Linked DNA regions of Homo sapiens: all the other regions are linked to region 3. Evidence: promoter capture Hi-C in human tissues and cell types (Jung and others, 2019). All regions are on one chromosome and are shown on one strand. Each heading gives the region's core, a stretch centred on a gene start or on the middle of the fragment in contact. The rest is flanking DNA. Distances are from core to core; before and after follow the strand shown. Region 1 has its middle 24 kb from the start of TMEM39B. Region 2 has its middle 30 kb from the start of PTP4A2. Region 3 holds the start of COL16A1 (collagen type XVI alpha 1 chain).

The links. Contacts are between HindIII fragments. The study calls those that stand out against the background at their distance.
Region 1: a contact is called between a fragment that was not itself captured here and the fragment with the promoter of COL16A1 in region 3, in 1 of the 25 tissues and cell types used here (spleen).
Region 2: a contact is called between a fragment that was not itself captured here and the fragment with the promoter of COL16A1 in region 3, in 1 of the 25 tissues and cell types used here (IMR-90 fibroblasts).

The regions. Positions count from the first base shown.
Region 1 is chr1:32,046,284-32,050,675 of GRCh38, reverse strand. It overlaps a transcript of KHDRBS1 not described here. Among named protein-coding and RNA genes, the nearest start is that of TMEM39B, 24 kb to the left of the region's middle. The HindIII fragment of the contact is 3,894 bases long and covers 807-4,392 here.
Region 2 is chr1:31,966,483-31,971,175 of GRCh38, reverse strand. No RefSeq gene overlaps it. Among named protein-coding and RNA genes, the nearest start is that of PTP4A2, 30 kb to the right of the region's middle. The HindIII fragment of the contact is 5,460 bases long and covers 484-4,693 here.
Region 3 is chr1:31,701,993-31,706,235 of GRCh38, reverse strand. COL16A1 (collagen type XVI alpha 1 chain) reads left to right here and starts at 2,219. Exons shown (of 71, transcript NM_001856.4): 1 at 2,219-2,399; 2 at 4,009-4,115. The coding sequence starts at 4,043. RefSeq lists a silencer at 749-798 and an enhancer at 4,108-4,243. The HindIII fragment of the contact is 8,325 bases long and covers 1-3,020 here.

The DNA of each region.
Region 1 (4,392 bases), core at 1,504-4,003, 340 kb before region 3:
CCAGGCATGATGGCACGCACCTGTAGTACCAGCTACTTGGGAGGGTGAAGCATGAGAACTGCTTGAACCCGGGAGCTGGAGGTTGCAGTGAACTGAGATCATACCACTGCACTCCAGCCTGGGGGACAGAGTCAGACTCTGTCTCCAAAAAACAAACAAACAAACAAACAAACAAAAAGAACTAAAACTAAAAAACTGAGAAAGAAACAAACAGGTACAATCCTGACCTTGAATGAGACAATAGTTTATTACCTATGACAAAAAAGAAAAAAACAGATAAACTGGACTTCAACAAAATGGAAAATTTTGGTGATTTAAAGAAAGTAAAAGGACAACCCACTGAATGGGAGAAAATATTTGCAAATCATACATCTGACAAGAGTTTAGCGTCCAGAATATATAAAGAACTTACAACTCGCTAATAAAAAGACAAATTATCCCATTTAAAAGTGGGCAAAGTATTTAGATAGACATTTTTCCACAGAAGATATATAATTGGCTAACAAGCACATGAAAATATGCTCAATGACATTAGTCATTAGGGAAATGCAAATCAAAACCACAGTGAGGTACCACTTCACACCCACTAAAGATAGCTATAATAAAGTAAATGTTGGTGAGGATATGGAGCATTTGGAACCCTCATATGTTGCTGGTAGGAATGGTACAGGCTCTCTGCAGAAAACAATTTGGCAGTTCCTAAAAAAATTAAACAGGCCGGGCGTGGTGGCTCATGCCTGTAATCCCAGCACTTTGGGAGGCTGAGGCAGGTGGATCATGAGGTCAGGAGATCGAGACCATCCTGGCTAACACGGTGAAACCCCGTCTCTACTAAAAATACAAAGAATTAGCCGGGTGTGGTGGCACGTGCCTATATTCCCAGCTGCTTGGGAGGCTGAGGCAGGAGAATCACTTGAACCCAGGAGGCGGAGGTTGCAGTGAGCTGAGATCGTGCCACTGCACTCCAGCCTGGGCGACAGAGTGAGACTCTGTCTCAAAAAAAAAAAAATAAAAAATAAAAAAATAAACAGAGTCACCGTATGACCCAGAACCCAGAAATTCTTCTAGGTATATACCCAAGAAACTGAAAACATGTCCACACAAAAACTTATATACAAATATTCAAAGCAGTATTATTCATAATAGCCAAAAAGTAGAAATAATCCAAATGCCTGTCAATGGATCAATGAATAAATGAAACGTAGTATATGCATACAGTGAAATCGCATTTAACAGTAAAAAAAAAAAAAAGAACAAAGTAGGGATACATGCTACAACATGGATGAACCTTGAAAACATCCGAAGTGAAAGGAGGCCAGTCAGCTGAGCGTGATGGCTCACGTCTGTAATCCCAAACTTTGGAAGGCCAAGGTAGGCGGATCACCTGAAGTCACGAGTTCGAGACCAGCCTGGCCAACACGGTGAAACCCCACCTCTACCAAAAATACAAAAATTAGCCAGGCATGGAGGCGCGTGCCTATAATCCCAGCTACTCAGGAAGGCAGGAGAATCGCTTGAACCTGGGAGGCGGAGGTTGCAGTTGCAGTGAGCTGAGATCGCACCACTGCACTCCAACCTGAGCGACAGAGCAACACCCCGTCTCAAAAAAAAACCAAAAAAACAAAAAAAAAACAAAAAGGAAGCCAGTCACAGAAGACCACTTATTGTATAATTTCATTTGTATGAAATCATACAGAAAGTGGTCTTCTGTGACTGGCTAAACCCTTGGACTTAGCCTTCTGGAGGCTAAACCCTTGTCATCTTTAGAGACAGAAAGCAGAGTAGTAGCCTACGGCTGGAGGGAATAAATAGATTGGTGGAAGACAGATAAAAGGCATGGGGTTTCTTTTTGGAATGATAAAGACATTTTAAATGGGCCCTAGTGATGACTGAACAACTCTGTATATACTAAAAACCACTGAATTATACACTTTAAGTGAGAGAACAGTATGGTATGTGAATTATATCTCAATAAAGTTGTTATTTTAAAATTCCGCCAAAACTCTAGACTTCTTTGCCACTAGGACAGTTATGTCTGTCCAAAAAGAATCACTTAAAAATGCTAACATGACCTTTAATTTATACTAACAGAAGCTAACCACAGGCTGCAAACTGGTAAGCTAAAGGCCACATCTGGCATGCAGCAAATGTATTTTATTGGGACCAATAGTATTTTAAAAACTTTCTACCCGGGCTGGAGTACAGTGTTGTGATCATAGCATACTGTAACCTTGAACTCCTCGACTCAAGTGATCCTCCTTCCCCTGCCTCCTGAGTAGCTAGGATAAGAGGTGCAAGCCATCATGCCCAGCTAATGCCCAGCTAACTTTTTGTAGAGACAGAGTCTGCTATGTTGTCCCGGCTTGTCTTGAACTCCTGGCCTCAAGTGATCCTCCCAACTCAGCCTCCCCAGGTGTTGGGATTACAGGCATGAGCTGCCATGCGCAGCCAAGAAAATTTTTAGAGAAGGGAAAGACACAGTAATGAAAATGATCTTCAAATACCTGAAAGGATGTTGCTTCAGAGGTCCAAAGCAGATTCAGTTTAAATTACTGAGGTACAGGTCTCATTCAAAATGAGAGATAAAATACTTAGAGCCATCTCTAATGAAATGGGCTGCTTTTGGAAGTAATGTTTCCTATGACTAGTATGAAGTACTATGTTACATGCTATAACCTGGATGAACCAAACACTATGCAAAGTCAAAGAAGCCAATTCCAAAAAGCATATATTATATGATTCCATTTATATGGAATGTTCAGAATAGGCAAACCCACAGAAAGAGTAGTGGCTGCCAACAGCTGGGGAGAGAAGGGAGTTGGGAGTGACTATTAGCAGATATAAGATTTGTTTTTAGAGTGATGGAAATATTCTGGAATTAAATAGTGGAAATGGTTGCACAGTATAAATATACTAAAAACTACTGCATTGTACACTTTAAAATTGTAAATTTTATGCTATGTGAATTTTTCCTCAAAACAGAAACAAAGGTAGAAAGGGACCAAATGAGATACTTACTAACTCTGTTAGGATATTATGATGCATACAGTGATAAATGTCAGGTATTATCATCAACTTCATTTGATGATAAATGAGGCACTGAAAGGGTTTTGTTTCTGACTAAGGTGACAAAGGCTCACATGAAGCAGAGCCAGGACAGATACCCAATCTTGCCTGTCTCTAAAGCTTACAGAATTGTAATAAAAGTTCACAGGCTGGCCGGGTACAGTGGCTCACGCCTGTGATCCTAGCACTTTGGGAGGCTGAGGTGGGCGGATCACTTGAAGCCAGGAGTTCAAGACTAGCCTGGCCAACATGGTGAAACCACATCTCTACTAAAAATACAAAAATTATCCAGGCGTGGTGGTGTGTGCCTATAATCCCAGCTACTCCGGAGGCTGAGGCAGGGGAATCGCTTGAACCCGGGAGGTGGAGGTCGCAGTAAGCTGAAATCACACCACTGCACTCCAGCCTGGGCAACAGAGTGAGACTCCACCTTAAAATAAATAAATAAAGTTCACAGGTAGTGAGTGATAGAATTTTACAGAAAACACTTGGATCAATGGGCGAAGCTACATGTCCAGAACAGGCAGAACACCAGCAGGCCTAGGTCCACAAACAGAACCTGCCTTTCCAAGCACAGTTCACAGTCCAAATGAAAGGTTTCCCCAAACTTCTAATCCATTTTTCTTCTTCAGACTACCCTAGGAAGAGTTGAGACTAAATTCTCTGCATTCAGGGATTCCCCACGCTAAATTTCCTAGCCATTCATGTGACCAACATCAAACGTAGGACTTGCCAGGTGCCCAGAATCTTGTTCAGTACATATGCCCCTCTCTTAAAGCTTCCAGATCTCTCACAGGCTGAGAGGCAGGCTTGGAAGAAAAAGAAATTCCAAGAAGCCAAATTTCACTGTGAAAGGTTCTATATGCGTAGGGCTTACCTAGTTAGGCCTTTCTCCTCAGTGTCATCCTAATCCTAACACCTCAGAGCAGAGAAAAAATCAGCCAGTTAGTTGCTTAATGGCTTCAATTAACAGGAAAGCTCACTGTTGTCACAGCCCCCAACTACACAAACCAGGGAGTCAAACTCCACATCCTTTCTTCTATACCACAATTATCCCTATGAAGGACCTCCTAAGTATAAGAAATATCCTTTCCCAGCCGGGTGTGGTGGCTCACGCCTGTAATCTCAGCACTTTGGGAGGCCAAGGTGGGTGGATCACCTGAGGTCAGGAGTTCGAGACCAGCCTGACCAATAAGGTGAAACCTCGTCTCTACTAAACAATACAAAAATTAGCCAGGCGTGGTGGCAGGTGCCTGTAGTCCCAGGTACTCGGGAGGCTGAGACAGGAGAATTGCTTGAACCCAGAGGCGGAGGTTGCAGTGAGCT
Region 2 (4,693 bases), core at 1,964-4,463, 260 kb before region 3:
TGAAGACCAAAATAGCAGCCTTATTATTGATAAAGCTGATTTAGAGAGAGTGACCTATGTCTGTCGATAGGTGTGCACCCAAGTACTGACCCCAGAATTGCATCAGCTTAACCATGGATTCACAGGCAGTGCCTGATGAAGTAGAACTTAAGGCATACAGAGACAGGCAGAATGCATCCTTTAGGAGAGAAGTGTGCAGAGCTGCATATACCAGTTCTTTATCACAGACTCATGGATGGATTCAGTCACTTGCCTCTTTCAGGGGAAGCAGAGAGAAGCCAGGAGTGTTACACTATGGATGCCTTTCCCATGAAAGGGAAAGATAGGAGTATTTTCCATCTAACAATCCCCAACTCTTAAACAAAACAAAACAAAAAGAAACAAAAAAAAAACAGCTTTATTGACTAGGTGTGGTGGCTCACACCTGTAATCCCAGCACCTTGGGAGGCTGAGATGGGTGGATCACTTGAGCTCAGGGGTTCGAGACCAGTCTAGGCAACATAGTGAAACTTCATCTCTATAAAAAATACAAAAATTAGCCGGGTATGGTGGTACAGGCTGTAGGCCCAGCTAGTCAGGAGGCTGAGGCGGGAGGATCGCTTGAACCCAGGAGATGGAGGTTGCAGTGGGCTGAGATCCTGCCACTGCACTTCAGCCTAGGTGAGAGTGAGACCCTGTGTCAAAAAAAAAAAAAAATTAAAATAAAAAATAGCTTTAGTGATATGTGATTCACATACCGTAAAATTCACTTTTAAAGTATACAAGTCAGTGGGGTTTTTTTGTTGTTCTTCTTTATTCTGAATACAAGTCCCATATCCAATCTATGATTTGTAAATATTTTCTCCCATTCTGTGGGTTATCTTTTCACCATCAGGAGACAGTGTCCTCATAGAATGGAACAACACATGCTGGGGCCTATTGGAAGGTGGAGGTTGGGAGGAGAAAGAGGATCAGGAAAAATAACTAACGGGTACTAGACTTAATACCTGGGTGACAAAATAATTTGTACAACAAACCCCCATGACACAAGTTTACCTATACAACAAACCTGCACATGTAACCCTGAACTTAAAAGTTAAATTAAAAACAAGAGATGGGCTGGGCACACTGGCTCATGCCTGTAATCCCAGCACTGTGGGAGGCTGAAGCAGGTGGATCACCTGAGGTCAGGAGTTCGAGACCTGCCTGATCAACATGGTGAAACCCCGTCTCTACTAAAAGTACAAAAGTTAGCTGGGCGTGGTGGCAGGTGCTTGTAATCCCAGCTACTCGGGAGACTGAGACATGAGAATTGCTTGAACCTGGGAGGCGGAGGTTGCAGTGAGGCAAGATCGCACCATTGTACTCCAACCTGAGCGACAGAGCAAGACTCTGTCTCAAACCAAAAAAAAAAAAAAAAAAAGAGAGAGAGAGATGGTGTCCTTTGAAACACAAAAGTTTTTAATGTTTACAAAGTTCAATTTATCTTTTTTTTGTTTTGTCTGTGCTTTTGAGTATCATATCTAAGAAACTATTGCTTAATCCAATGTCGTGAAGATTGATTCCTATGTTTTCTTCTAAGAGTATTATGCTTTTTTTAGCTCTTACATTTAGGTCTGTTACATTTTTGATCAAATTGTTTATATAGTGTGAACAGGGGTTCATTTTAATTTTTTTTGCATGTGAATATCCAGTTATTGTTTTCATACATTTGTTCAAAATTGACCACAAATGTAAAGGTTTATTTCTGGACTTTCAGTTCTATTCCATTAATCTATATATTTATTCTTTTTTTTTTTTTTTTTTTGAGACAGAGTCTTACTCTGTTGCCCAGGATGGAGTGCAGTGGTATGATCTCAGCTCACTGCAAGCTCCACTTCCCGGGTTCAAGAGATTCTCCCACCTCAGCCTCATGAGTAGCTGGGATTACAGGCATGTGCCACCACACCTGGCTAATTTTTGTATTTTTAGTAGAGATGGGGTTTTGCCATGTTGGCCCGGCTGGTCTCGAACTCCTGACCTCAGATGATCTGCCCCACCCTCGGCCTCCCACAGTGCAGGGATTACAGGCGTGAGCTACCACGCCTGGCCTATATATTTATTCTTATGTCAGTACCATATTGTCTTTATCACTTTGGCTATGTATAAATTTTGAAATCAGTGAGTTCTCCAACTATTTTTTTTCAAGATTATTTTGACTATTCTGTGTCCCTTGCATTTCCATATGAATTTTAGGATCAGCTTGGTAATTTCTGCAAAAAACAAAAACAAAAACAAAAAAAACCCAAAAAAACACCAGCTGAAATTTTGATAGGAATTGCACTGAAAATGTAGATCAGTTTGGGGAGTATTGCCATCTTACTCCCCAGAATGCCATCTGTTCATTCCAATATAGGAACACGGGATGTCTTCCCATTTATTTAGGTCTTATTAAATTTCTTTCAACAGGCCAGGAGCGGAGGCTCACGCCTCTAATCCTAGCACTTTAGGAGGTGGAGGCGAGAGGAGCATTTGAGCCCAGGAGTTTAAGACCAGCCTGGGCAACATAGTGAGACTTTGTTTCTACAAAAAATGAAAAAAATTAGCCAGGTTTGGTGGTATACACCTGTAGTCCCAGCTACTTGTGAGGCTGAGGCTGGAGAATCTCTTGAGCTTGGGAGTTAGAGGCTGCAGTGAGCTGTGATAGCACCACTGCACTCCAGCCAGGGCAACAGAATAAGACTCTCTCTATAAAACCAACCAACCAACCAACCAACCAACCAACCAAACGAACAAACAAACAAACAAAAAAAACAGACGCAAAGTCTTTTAACATTTTTATAGTTTTCAGTGTCTGAATCTTGTTATTTATTTATTTATATTTGAGACAGAGCCTTGCTCTGTCGCCCCAGCTGCAGTGCAGTGGTGCAATCTTGGCTCACTGCAGCCTCAACTTCCCATGCTCAAGCCATCCTCCGCCGCAGCCTCCCAAGTAGCTGAGACTACAGGAGTGCACATCCAGGTAATTTTTTTTTTTTTTAGACGGAGTCTTGCTCTGTTGCCTAAGCTAGAGTGCAGTGGCACGATCTCGGCTCACTGAAAGCTCTGCCATCCGGGTTTCATTCTCCTGCCTCAGTCTCCTGAGTAGCTGGGACTACAGGCGCCCACCACCACACCCAGCTAATTTTGTGTATTTTTAATAGAGACAGGGTTTCACCATGTTAGCCAGGATGGTCTCGATCTCCTGACCTCGTGATCCATCCGCCTCGGCCTCCCAAAGTGCTGGGATTACGGGGGTGAGCCACTGTGCCCAGCCCATGCCCAGCTAATTTTTAAATTTTTTTTGTAGCTACGAGGTCTCACTGTATCACCCATGCTGATCTTGAACTCCTGGCCTCAAGCGATCTGCCCACCTCAGCCTCCCAAAGGGCTGGGATTACAGACATAAGTCACCGTGCCTATCCAAGTCTTGTATAATACTTCTTTTGTTAAATTTCCTCCTATGTATATTATTCTTCTTGATGATATTGTAAATAAAAATTATTTTCTCAATTTCATTTTCAGATTGTTCATTGCCAGTGTATAAAAATTCAACTGATTTTTGTGTATTGATCTTGTATCCTGCAACCTCACCAAACTCATTTATTAGTTCTAATAGTATTTTGTGAACTCCTTAGGATTTTCTATATTCGAGATCATGTCATCTGCAAATACAATTTTACTCCAATCTGGATGCCACTGCAACCTCTGCCTCCCAAGTTCAAGTGATTCTCCTGTCTAAGCCTCCTGAGTAGCTGGGATTACAGGCACCTGCCACCACGCCCATCTAATTTTTGTATTTTTAGTAGAGATGGGGTTTCACCATGTTGGCCAGGCTGATGTCGACCTCCTGACCTCAAGTGATCTGCCCACCTCAGCCTCCCAAAGTGCTGGGATTATAGGCGTGAGGCACTGCACCCAGCTCCCAAAAGCTTCTTTAATCTTCATAATACCATGAGGTTGATGTTACTAATCCTATTTTTTTTTTTTTTTGAGATGGAGTTTCACTCTGTTGCCCAGGCTGGAATGTAGTGGCATGATCTCGGCTCACTGCAACATCTGCCTCCTGGGTTCAAGCAATTCTTCTGCCTCAGCCTCCCAAGTAGCTGGGATTACAGGCGTGTGCCACCATGTCCAGCTAATTTTTGTATTTTTAGTAGAGACATGGTTTCACCATGTTGGCCAGGCTGGTCTCGAACCCCTGACCTTGTGATCTGCCTGCCTCAGCCTCCCAAACTGCTGGGATTACAAGCATGAGCCACCATGCCTGGCCACTAATCCTATTTTAGGAATGAGAAAATTGAAGTTCGAAGTAGTTAAGTGATTTACTTAAGGTCATATAATTGGTAAGTCTCAGAGTCTAGATTTGAACCCAAGTCTTTCTGATTCCATTATATCCAAAGGTCTTTTGAAATACATTTTAAATTTTAAATAAATTTTACCTTGAAAATGTAATAATGTGCATGATAAAGAATTTAATAGTACAGGCTGGGTGCGGTGGCTCATGCCTAAAATCCCAGCACTTTGGGAGGCCGAGGCGGGTGGATCACGAGGTCAGGAGATCGAGACCATCCTGGCTAACACGGTGAAACCCTGTCTCTCCAAAAAAATACACAAAATTAGCTGGGTGTGGTGGCAGGCGCCTGTAGTCCCAGCTACTTGGGAGGCTGAGGCAGGAGAATGGCATGAACCCGGG
Region 3 (4,243 bases), core at 970-3,469:
GAATTATGTACCTGTGTTTGGATATGTCCAGGGATATATTTCTGTGGGGTAATCTGGGCTCTTACATGTGTTTCTGTGTATCTTTGATGTGGAGGCGTATCTTGAGTCTCTACACATCTGTGTGTAACTGTTTCTAGGGCCAGGGTGTGTCTGTGTGAACATGAGTGCCTATACATGCATATGGAGTCTGCGTACTCAAGTGCTGTGCTAGAACTTTACCTGACTGCGTGTTTCTGGATGTGTGCACGTATGTGTGGAAGGGAGGAAGGGGCATGGGCACATTCCTAGACTGTCTATGATAGTGTTTCTAGGCGTAAGGTGTGTCCCAGGCTTGGCTGTTCCTGTGAGCACCCTTGGGGTGCTGTGGGAAGGCATCTGGCTCTCCCTTCTCAGGTTCCTCCATCCCTGGCCCAGCCACCTGCCCTGTCTGGGGCACGGGTGGGAGCTGTCAGGATGGCATGGTGGTTAAGAGCACGTGCTGAGTCTAGGCTGGCTGGACATGAGTTCTGCTCCACCACTGACTAGCTGTGGGATCCCGGGCAAGTTGTGTTTTTCCTGTGCTGCAGGTTTGGGAATAAAAATGGAATTCTGCCTTAAGGCGTTGTTGTAAAGATCGAAGGAGTTAGCATATGTGAAGTTCTCAGCACAGAGCCTGACCTATATGCGCTTCCCACCTCTCCCGAGTGCCCACTGCTGGGGCAGCACCCTCTGGTAGGGCAGGCGGGGCCTGTGCCCACCCACCCCGCAGGCCAGAGTGCTCAGAAGGCCCCACCCCCTCCGCTTCCCGCCTGCTGAGCTCAGCACTTCCCAGGCCCCACCACTGCCACAGCCACATCTGGGGCCAGCTCCTCACTGGGACCACAGTGGGGCGCCTCTGTGGCGTGGTTGGGGTTTCCGCTGACTCAGCGCCTCTGGGTCTGGAGGCGGGAAATCCCAGGCCTGCCCCTACAACCTCCCCCTACCCCGGGTTAGCCGAGGCCACAGGGCTAGGCGCGTTGCTTCCACAGAGCCCCCAGAGCCCCCCTCAACTGGGGACGCTCAGTTTCTCCCTCTTCAGCCCAGCATCTCATGGCCTCTTGAACCTACTTTGTGGATCCTCAGCCTTGGTGCCAATAAATTTGCTTTCGGTCTACAGCGGGAGGAGACCCTTGGTGGGGATTCCACCTTGGTCAACGGCCCTGCCTCTGGGCAGAACTCGGAACATTACCGGCTCCTTCCTCCTCAGAGCTCCAATCTTTCAGCCCAGCTCAATTCCTCTTGCGTCCTTGGACCGTGAATATAAAGCAGGTCCCTCCCCAGTGCTGGTGTAAAGGCTTGAAATCCAGTCCCGTCCCCTGCCAGGGATCACAGTAATAACGATAATAGCAGCAAATATTTACTGAGCTCCTCTCATGTGCCAGACCGTGTGCTAAGCGCTTACAGCCTTTGGCCCATTTCCTGCTTACAGCAAAGGTCTATGAGGCATATACTCTCACGATCCCATCTTCCAGATGAGAAAACGGAGTATGGTTACACAGCACATTTGGAACCGCAAAGCCAGAGCAGGGGCCAGGGATTTGAGCCCTTCCAACCTCATGGAGTAAGGAGGAATAAGGGGACTCCCTCAGTCTCACTTCTCTGGGAGTCAGGCCAGAGCAGAGGGGGTTAATTTAGCACGGAGGAGGGAGGGGGTTCCCACCCTCCTCCTCCCAGTACAGACAGACCTAGGGACAGACTGACTGGGAATGTTAGGCAGAGGAATTGGAAAAAGCTGACCACCGAGGCTTGGGCGGCAGCCACATCATGGGTGCCACGCACTTGGGAGGAGGGTCTCTACCCTGCTCCCTCCACCCCTGTCCCCTCCCCGCCCCCCCACCCCGCAGCCTTCTGGGGGCCCAGCCAGGGACATGGAAAGGGGGAGCTCTTCAAACTCCAGGCCTGACTCTTAAAGGGCCCGCAGGAGCCCCCTTCCAGGGCAGCTCTGGGCACGTAGGGTCCCGCCTAGCTCGAGGATCGCTCACCTGGCGGTGAGGCAGGAGGGGCGGGCCTGGGAGCTCGGCCAGACCCGGGGCGGGGCTGTGCACCCCGCAGTCTAGCCGCCTCTGGTGCCGCTGGAGCCCCCTCTAGGCCCTCCTCCTCCTCCTCCCTGGCGGGCCGGTCCAGCTGTGTTCCATTAGTGTCCCTGGCAGGCCCCCAGCCCCCTGGAACCGCCTCTCTTCCCCCACCCGGAGTGGCCGGCAGTCCCCGGCAGGCGTGCGCCGGGCAGCAGACAGCCGGGAGAGCTCGAGCGCCAGGAAGCTGGGGACCCGTGACCGTCACGGAGAGATAGAGAACCCCTAGCGGACCTGAGGAACCTGGGCTCTGCTTCCTCCGCCTGCTGCCTGGACTGCTCAGTGAGGTGGGGGGATCCCCGGCCACCGGTAAGTAGGGATACAGTGGGCGGCCTCAGGGCTCTGGGCTGAGAGGCCCTTTCTGCCAGACTTGCTGTGTGACCTGAGGAAAGTGGCATTCCCTCTCTGGGCCTTGGTCGTCTTCTCTAGAGCGAGATGAGCTCTAAACTCCATCCTGGTTCTGACTCCCTGCGCCCAAATCTATGCCTCTGTGTTGGGGTGAGCCGTCTCCTTGGAAGCTTCTCTGGCTCTGTCCTTGCAGCCCTGCACTCTGGCTGGAGCCTGAGGAGTGGCGACCAGAGACTAGGAGCCGGAAGGGGACAGGATCACATCCATCCTCACGCCTCCACATGCACCCACATGGCGCCACAGCTGGCAGCCCTTCTATTGGCTGGCAGGAGGAAGACCAGGATAGGGTTTGAGAGCTGGGATGTGTATATCACTAGGATGGGGGATGAATAGGCAGGCTGGGGGCACAGTTCTGTCCCAGGGAGAAGGGGGCTGGAGTCCTATCTCCAAATATATTGGGGTAAGGGGTCCTTTCTGTTTTCATTTCCTATCCATGATTGAGGGAAGGAAAATTGGATTTCATTAGAGTTGGAAGGAATGCAGTCAGACTTGCATTAGAACTTCCCAACAGGAAGACCTACAGGAGGAGTGGTCATAGGCTGGCTGTGCGCATGTGGGTATATGCAAGCTGGTGTGTCTGGGTATATCAGCGAGCATATGTTTCCGTGAGCATGCCTGTGTGCAGATAGCTTTGTATGCACACTGGTACCACATATGTGTCCTTATGTACATGTACCTGCGCATCTGCATGTGCTGTGCTGACACATGCATGGCTCTGTGTTTGTGCACGTGAGCTGCCTGTCCTGGGGGAGGCCAGACGATGTATGGCTCTGCTGGCCACTTGCTGAGCCTGCATCGATTTATCTGGGCCCATCCATCAGGGTTTAATAAAACTAAAAGACAAGCATCCATCAGCTGGGGGCGGGGGTGGCTGGCAATGAGGTCCTGAGCCCTAGAGACCTGCTCTCCTGCCCACTATACCTATGGGGAAAGCTTCCTTGGCCCCCACACAGCCCTATGGAAGGCTGTGGCCCACAATCTCAGCCCAGTCACCAGCCCCTGACCCTGTGGGTGCCTGGGAGGGCTTCCTGGGCTGAGCTGGGTGCGCTAGTAAGGTATCAGGCTGGTATATATACCAGGACAGTGCACAAGATGCTAGACTTGAAATACTTCCACGTGTCTTGAAGAATAGCCTCTTCTTTAAGCCCTCATCACTATTCCAACTTCTCTGGCCTTCTAAGACCTTCTAGACCTCTCCCAATCCAGCAAGTATCCACTGGCACAGCCAGATGCTGCCTGGACACTATTTCAGTGCAGTAGGCAGCTTTCTGCTTTGCCTGAAAGCTGGTATCCGTGCCATACCGGTGGTTAAATATTTTGAATATCGCCTCTGCTCAAATCCTAGCCCAAGGGCTGTGGTTGGGCCTCTGAGAGAGACTGATGCCTGGCCAGACCTCCTGCCACCCCAATACCAGTGCCTGGGCCCCACAGGCTGTCCACGACTTGCCCACGTGTGGAGTTGTGCTGTGTGAACTCAGAAATCCGCCTTCCCGGTCTCTGTGGTTTTCAGGTGCTGTGGCTGTAGCTGACCTCTTTGGACCGGGATGTGGGTATCCTGGGCTCCTGGCCTGTGGCTGCTCGGTCTTTGGGCTACCTTCGGCCATGGGGCAAATACAGGTGAGATGACACAGGAGAGTCACAGTATCACAGGCCTGCAACTGGTATCCTGGGGTGCTGGGGTCCTTGCACATATGTGACCATGTATGTGTGGTCGTGTGGGCAGTTATAGCAGAGTCTAGGGGCTG